Linked DNA regions of Homo sapiens: region 1 is linked to region 2. The links are contacts of gene promoters, found by promoter capture Hi-C in blood cells and fetal thymus (Javierre and others, 2016). All regions are on one chromosome and are shown on one strand. The core of a region is centred on a gene start or on the middle of the fragment in contact, and the rest is flanking DNA. Distances in the headings are between cores, read along the strand shown. Region 1 has its middle 40 kb from the start of LTBP4. Region 2 holds the start of AXL (AXL receptor tyrosine kinase).

The links. The method cuts DNA at HindIII sites, captures the fragments that hold promoters and counts their contacts. A CHiCAGO score of 5 or more calls a contact.
Region 1: a fragment that was not itself captured here is called in contact with the fragment with the promoter of AXL in region 2 in 3 of 17 cell types (naive CD8 T cells, M2 macrophages and erythroblasts); the score reaches 7.1 in naive CD8 T cells.

The regions. Positions count from the first base shown.
Region 1 is chr19:40,639,427-40,643,668 of GRCh38, forward strand. No RefSeq gene overlaps it. Among named protein-coding and RNA genes, the nearest start is that of LTBP4, 40 kb to the left of the region's middle. The HindIII fragment of the contact is 6,260 bases long and covers 1-4,242 here.
Region 2 is chr19:41,216,836-41,220,573 of GRCh38, forward strand. It overlaps AXL (AXL receptor tyrosine kinase), which reads left to right and starts at 2,388. Exons shown (of 20, transcript NM_021913.5): 1 at 2,388-2,642. The coding sequence starts at 2,558. RefSeq lists an enhancer at 1,529-2,353 and a silencer at 1,962-2,101. The HindIII fragment of the contact is 40,135 bases long and covers 1-3,738 here.

The DNA of each region.
Region 1 (4,242 bases), core at 1,221-3,720, 580 kb before region 2:
TTTTTTTTTGTTTTTTTTTGAGACAGGGTCTCACTCTGTTGCCCAGGCTGGAGTGCAGTGGTGCAAGTCATGACTCACTGCAGCCTAGACTTCCTCGGCTCAAGCCATCCTCCAGGCCTCCAGGGCTACCACAACCCAGCCAATTTTTTGATAGAGACGAGGCCTCCCTTATTGCCCAAGCTGGTCTTGAACTTATGGGCTCAACTTATCTACCCACCTCGGCCTCCCAAAATGCTGGGATTCCAGGCCTGAGCCACTGTGTTCCGCCAATCTCATTCAAAGTAAGAGCCAAAGTCCTCACTGTGGTCCAGCAGACTCTGCACCGTCTGCTTCTTGTTCCCTCTCTGACCTCACCTCCCCTCCACCCCCCACACGCTCCTCTGCAGCAACACGGATCTCCTTGTTGTTTCTCTAAGATCCAGACATGTTCCCATCCCACCCCAGGACCTTGGCACTGGCTGTTCCCTCTGCCTAGGGGACTCTTTCCACTAGGTTCAGTTTCTCTTTTTTTTTTTTTTTGAGACGGAGTTTTTTCACTCTTGTTGCCCAGACTGGAGTGCAGTGGCACGATCTCGGCTCACAGCAAGCTCCTCCTCTCAGGTTCAGGCAATTCTCCTGCCTCAGCCTCCCGAGTAGCTGGGACTACAGGCACCCGCCACCACCCCCAGCTAATTTTTGTATTATTAGTAGAGACGGGGTTTCACCATGTGGCCAGGCTGGTCTCGAACTGCTGATCTCAAGTGATCCATCTACCTCAGTCTCCCAAAGTGCTGGGATTACAGGTGTGAGCCACCGCGCCTGGCCCCCTTGGCTCAGTCCCTCACCACCAGCAGAAGAATGGATAAACTGATCCCACAGTGGCCTGCAATGTGTGTGTGCTGCAATGAGAATAACCTGTAACTGCACACGACAACCAGGATGAATTTTTTTCACGGTGCTGACTGAAAAAAGCCAGATGCTAAAAAGAACATATTTTCAGATTGCATTTACATGAATTCAAAACAGGCACAACCAATCTATGCTGTCAGAAGTGAGGGTGATAATGACCTTGGAGGGAGGGCAGGTGATAAGGGAGCGCCGAGGGGGCTTCTGGGGGGCTGGAGATATTGCTTCTTGGGCTGGTGGCTGGTGACACAGGTGTGTTCAATCGGTGATAATTCCTCCAGCGGTTACACTTACGGTTTGTACTTTCCTGAATATGGGTCTACTTCAAGAAACCACTGCTGAAAACGAGGAGCTGCACCCACCACCCAGTGTCCCCTCCATCCAGTTTAAGCAACAGGACATTCTCAGCCCCCCGGGGTCCCTCCCTCCCAATGCAATGTGCTTTTATGTCTTCAAGGGGCCTGGCCACCACCTTGGTTGCTTCCCCCAGCTTGCTATGCATGTCACCCCACGCATGTTCCAGGCAGCTCCACAGAGGTCCCCAGAGAGAAGGCAGGCTGTGGGTGGGAGGAAGGGCAGGGGTGGGGGACGTGGCTTCCCAGCGGAGCCCGGGCAGGGGGAGGAAACATTTCTGCAACACCCCACACCAAGTCCTGACTTCGGGGGGGCTTTGCAGGGTGAATTCTAAGTGCCCAGGGCCCCATGTGAAGGGGTCAACTGTGTCTCACTCTGTGTCTGTCTCTCTGTCTGTCTCTCTTCCTGTTTCCTCCCTCCCTCCCAGTCTCTCTCTCCTCAAGAAGAAAAAAACTCACAACTATTTACATAACAATTTTATATCAGACTGTAACCCAAAAACCCAAGTTCCAACTTCGAATTTTTCAATAAACTTTGAATAAATAGTAGTGCTATTTTTCTTTCTTTTTTTTTTTAGTACTGTAATGTTTACTTTTAAATTTAATTTTTACTGGCAGACTTTACGTATATGAGGTTCAAGAAAAGAAAATCTCCACTGTTTACATTTCTTTTCTGACTATTAATATTGTTCATTTCATTTCCTGATTATTACTGGCAATAATTTTGTCCTATGGGGAAGGGAGGCGCTTGGCAGGCCTCGAGTTATCCTTTGAGACATGGGGGTCTGTGGTCAGATTTAGAAAGTGCTTGTGGGTGGCTGGGTGGGAGTGGGTCATGGGAGACATAAGGGCAGGCTGGAGTCCAGGGAGGAGGCCGGCCGGGCAGGGACCCAGGCAGCGGAGATGGACAGGGCCATGGAGAATCTGGGAGGCGCAGGCCCTGGGGACTGTGGATTGGGGAAGGAGATAATTTTATTTTATTATATTTTTTTGAGACAGAGTTTCAGTCTGTCTCCAAGACTGTAGTGCAATGGCACGATCTCTGCTCACTGCAACCTCTGCCTCCCGAGTTCAAGGGATTTTCCTGCCTCAGCCTCCCAAGTAGCTGGGATTACAGGCACGCACCCTCACACCCAGCTAATTTTTAATATTTTTGGTAGAGACGGGGTTTCACCATATTGGCCAGGCTGGTCTCATACTCCTGACCTCAAGCGATCCACCTGCCCCGGCCTCCCAAAGTGCTGGGATTACAGGCATGAGCCACGACGTCTGGCCTAATTTTTTGTATTTTTAGGAGAGACAGGGTTTTGCCATGTTGGCCAGGCTAGTCTTGAACTCCTGGCCTCAAGTGATCCGCACACCTCAACCTCCCAAAGTGCTGGGATTACAGGTGTGAGCCACTACGCCCCGCCAAGGGAAGGGGAGAATTTGAGTGCTATTGAAGGTAGAAAACACAGAACATAGGCTGGGTGTGGTGGCTCATATCTCTAATCCCAGCACTTTGGGAGGCCAAAGTGGGAGGCTGGCTTAATCCCAGGAGTTCGAGATCAGCCTGGGCAACATAGTGAGACCCCTGTCTCTACAAAAAATTAAAAATTAGCCAGGCATGGTGGCACCCACCTGTACTCCCAAGGCTACTTAGGAGGCTGAGGTGGGAGGATCGCTGGATCCCAGGAGATCTGAGGTGAGCCGTGATCATGCCACTGCACTCCAGCCTGGGCAGCAGAGTAAGACCCTGTCTCCAAAAATAAAAAATAATTTAAAATAAAGCGCGGAACACTGTCAGGTTGTCTGTGGGGGAGCAGCGGGCAGGCGACCAGGAGGGCTGGCTGCTCTGTGCAGGGCTAGTGCCTGGGTTGGGATGACTCGGCCTCAGAGCTGTAAATAAAGAAGGAAGAGGGCCGGGCGCGGTGGTTCACGCCTGTAATCCCAGCACTTTGGGAGGGCGAGGTGGACTAATCACCTGAGGTCGGGAGTTCGAGACAAGTCTGACCAACATAGAGAAATCCCATCTCTGCTAAAAATACAAAATTAGCCGGGTGTGGTGGCACATGCCTGTAATCCCAGCTACTCGGGAGGCTGAGGCAGGAGAATCGCTTGAACCCGGGAGGCAGAGATCACAGTAAGCCGAGATCACAACACTGCACTCTAGCCTGGGCAGCAAGAACAAAACTCCATCTCGAAAAAAAAAAAAAAAAAGTAGAAGAAAGAAAGAGCTGCCACAGTTGAGAGCTTCCTGGATGCCTTTGTTAACTCTTGGGGTTTTCACATACCCATCTTACAGATGGGGAAGCTGAGGCTCAGAGAGAGGAAGGCCCAAGTGGAAGAGCAAGCCTGGAGCCCAGGTCTCCTCCTGCCTAATCCTGGGCTTTTGCTGGTGGACTCCCGCCCAATCTTGAATAACTTCAGGCCTTAAACAACCTCCCACGATTGCTTTTCCTCCCATTAGAACAATAAATGCAGATACAAAAACCAACTATGCTTGTCTACAAAGCCCAAGAGAATTTTTGAAGTAATAAAACTGTCATGAATGCAGACTGTGGTGATTACATGACTTACGAATTTTTCAAAACTCAGAATCGAGCCAGATGAAATGATCCTGCCTGCAATCCCAGCACTTTGGGAGGCTATGGCAGGAGGATCATTTGAGGCCAGGAGTTCAAGACCAGCCTGGCCAACATGGTGAAACCCCGTCTCTACTAAAAATACAAAAATTAGCTGGGTGTGGAGGCACATGCCTGTAATCCCAGCTATTTCAGCAGCTAAGGCAAGAAAATTGTTTGAACCCGGAGGCTGAGGTTGCAGTGAGAAATGATCGTGCCACTGCACTGTAGACCCTGTCTCAAAAACCAAAACCAAAACCAAAAAAAGAAAAAAAAACCCTTAAGAATCAGGATTATACACGAGCACACGCACACTCACCCATAAATTTTACCATTTGTAGAAAAGAAGAAGAAAATTCAAAACCAAATACAATGAATGTACTTTCTCTGGATTCCAATTC
Region 2 (3,738 bases), core at 1,138-3,637:
TCTCAAGAAAAAAAAAATGCCACAATAAGGAATTGTCCCCTTTATGGCAGGCCTTTTACAGGGCGGTGAAGATGCAGCAGTTCCCAAAATATACCCAGTCCCTTCCCCCGCAGAGCCCACAGGCCAGTGGGAGGAGACAGATGTGAGACACATAATCATGCCAATAAATATATAATGACAACCCAGGCAAAGTGTTGCCAAGGAAAGGGACAGCATGTTGGGAGTGAACAATATGAGGACCTAGATTGGGCTGGGGGGGCCAGGCAGTGATGCGATGGAGAAGGGATGATAGAGTTGGGGACAAAGTGCTGCAGGAGGTTGCTCCAAGTCCTCTGAGGGGGCTCTTTGGGTGAGAAAGCGAGAGAAGCCTGGGGAGGCGAGGGGAGGGTCACAGAAACATAAGGAGTTTAGGGTTCTGCTGAAAGGTTTGGGGCAGAGGTGGGAAAGGGTTTGGTTTGAGATTGGGAAGAAGCCTTCTGACTGTTGAGTGGGAGACAGGTTGGAAGGAGCAACAGAAGCCAGCAGCCCATGGCCGGGCACAGTGACCCACGCCTGTAATCCCAGCCCTTTGGGAGGCCGAGGCGGGCAGATCACGAGTTCAGGAGTTCCAGACCAGCCTGGCCAACATGGTGAAACCCCGTCTCTACCAAAAATACAAAAATTAACCTGGCATGGTGGTGCACACCTGTAATCCCAGCAACTCAGGAAGCTGAGGTGGGAGGATCACTTGAACCCAGGAGATGGAGGTTGCAGTGAGCCGAGATCGAGCCATTGCACTCCAGCCTGGGCAACAAAGCAAGACTGGGTCTCAAAAAAAAAAAAAAAAAAAAAGACACAGCCCAGGGAGACAACGGTGAAGGGCCCTAAGTGGCCAGTGACAAGGAGCTGGGAGCTTGCCCTGAGGGCAGCAGGAGGCCATGGGCAAGCAGAGAAGGGACAGGGTAGGATTTGACTTTCAGAAACAGTCCTCTGGTTGCTAAATGGGAGAAAGGAGTGACAGTAGAGGCAGGAGAAGGCAGGATCAGACGGGGGTGCTGGGAAGGGGCAGGTAGAAGAGACATCAGGAGGCCAAACAGATAGGACTTTATGATGCACCGTAGGTATACCAGTACCCAAACACAGGTGGCCAAGAGCAGAGGGATAGACGCCCAGCCTCCTCCTCACAGACATCCAGGCATGCAGAGCCCTCCACGTGCCAAACACACAGGGCCGAGGAATGGAAGTGCAGCAGAGCCGATACGCAGGCAGCAGATCTGCAATAACCAGGACACACAGTCCCACCAGAAGGAGAGAGCAGTGGAATGATCAGGGCTCACTGCAGCCTCGATCTCTTGGACTCAAGCGTTCCTCTCACTCCAGCCTCCCTAGTAGCTGGGACCACAGGCACACGCCATGATACCTGGTTAAGTTTTAATTTTTAAACTTCTTGTAGAGATGGGGGTCTCAGTGCATTGACCAGTCTGGTCTCGAACTCCTGGGCTCAAGCGATCCTCCCACCTTGGCCTCCCAAAGTGCTGGGATTACAGGAGTGAGTTACTGTGCCCGGCCAACAACTATTCTTATTCCCATTTTACAGATGGACAAACTGAGGCTCAGGAGGCCAGTCACTTGCCTGTAGCCCACAGTTAGTGGTAGCACTGGGATTCCAACTTGGGTCCCCTTCATGTCGCCTGTATTTGGTGTCCCATTTAGGCGTCCATGCAGGTTTTGGCGTGTCTGAAGATCTGTGTCTCCCCAAGTAAGTGTCCCCCATGGATGCCCACCCAGCCGTGTCCTCCTGTCTCTGAGGTTTCTCCAGGAATCGAGCTCCTGGCCTGGCTTGTCTGAGTGTGTCTGTGGGCCAGTAGCATGCCCCTGCCCGTCTGGGTCCCTCTGCGTGTCTCTGCTTGTCCTAGCCTGTGTGTGTCAGTGACGTCTAAGAGTGTGTGTGCGTGCGTGCGTGCGTGCGTGTGTGTGTGTGTGTGTGTGTCCTTGTCCGAGGAGCCGAGAGAGTGAGGGGGAATGAAGGGCCAAGGAGGCCTGGCTGGGGCTGGGCTGGGGGTGGAGGCGGGGAGAGGGGCGTCACGGCCTGAGCTGAGAGGGGAGTGGAGTTCTGGAGGAATGTTTACCAGACACAGAGCCCAGAGGGACAGCGCCCAGAGCCCGGATAGAGAGACACGGCCTCACTGGCTCAGGACAGGGGGCACAGCCACCAGGGTCCCCTTCCCCCTCCTCAGCTCCCTCCCTGGCCCCTTTAAGAAAGAGCTGATCCTCTCCTCTCTTGAGTTAACCCCTGATTGTCCAGGTGGCCCCTGGGCTCTGGCCCTGGTGGGCGGAGGCAAAGGGGGAGCCAGGGGCGGAGAAAGGGTTGCCCAAGTCTGGGAGTGAGGGAAGGAGGCAGGGGTGCTGAGAAGGCGGCTGCTGGGCAGAGCCGGTGGCAAGGGCCTCCCCTGCCGCTGTGCCAGGCAGGCAGTGCCAAATCCGGGGAGCCTGGAGCTGGGGGGAGGGCCGGGGACAGCCCGGCCCTGCCCCCTCCCCCGCTGGGAGCCCAACAACTTCTGAGGAAAGTTTGGCACCCATGGCGTGGCGGTGCCCCAGGATGGGCAGGGTCCCGCTGGCCTGGTGCTTGGCGCTGTGCGGCTGGGCGTGCATGGCCCCCAGGGGTGAGTGATGGGGGCTCCTTGGGGCAGGGATCCCCTCGGAGGGGCTGGGGCAGGGGTAGGAGGTGGGGGATGATGGCAGGTGTGGGGGGCCTGGGCTGGCTTAGGGAGTTTCCTTGGGACCACAGAAAAGGGACTTCAAGGGAGGGAGACACAGACTCAGAGACACCAAGTGCGGCAGAGGGAGAGAAAGACTGAGAGAGGAACTGAAGGGCAGGGGGGACAGAAGAGAGGACCCGGAGAGACAGACAGACAAGGAGAAGCTGAGGGCAGGGGTGGGGGCTGGACCTGAGAAGGGGGCCATGGGGAGAGGGGCTGAGCTGAGGGTCGCCAGGAAGGAAGAAATCTTTCCGAAGGGGCACCGAGTCAGGCAGTGGGATGAGGAGGGCTCTGGAGCCCTGGGGGAAAACGCTTCTCCCTGCCAACACCACCCCCCTGACCCGCCACTTGTCCCTACCCCACCAGTCCACTCCATCTCTGGGGAGGAGGCTCTCACTTTGTCTCTCTGTCTCTGCCTCCAGCTCTGCTATCTCTGTGGGTCTCTGTTTCTCTCTCTTTCACAGTCTCTGCCTTTATCTCTCCCTGCTCTCTGAGTCTCTCTCTCTCTTCTCAGCCTCCCTCTGTGACTGTATCCCCCCTCCGCCCCCACCTTTTCTTCTCTCTTGAGGGCTGTTTCTTCATTTTTTCTGTCTTGCCTTGTATCTGTGCTCCTCTCTGTCTCATCTCCCCTGCCTTTCTCTGGCTTCTCCCTCCGCCACCACCCTTATCTCCCCCCACCACCACCCTTATCTCTCTCCCCCAACCCCTGATTCTTCCCCTCCATCCACCAGCACCAGCGCGACCTGTTAAGTCTCTAGAGACCTAAGAGAGGACGGAGGGGGCAGGGGCTGGCCCTGCCAGGCAGTGCAGGGCGTGGGAGGCTGCCAGATCCCGAGCCTCCTTCCCGACGGGATGGACGCTAGATCCCAGTCCCTTGGGAGGGCTCCCGTCCTCCTCTCAGAGCCTCCGCCCTCCACCCCACTCTGAGGTCACTCTGCAACTATGTCGGCCTAAGGGCCTGGCGGGGTCCTGGCCGCCGGTGGGCAGGCAAGGACAGGGT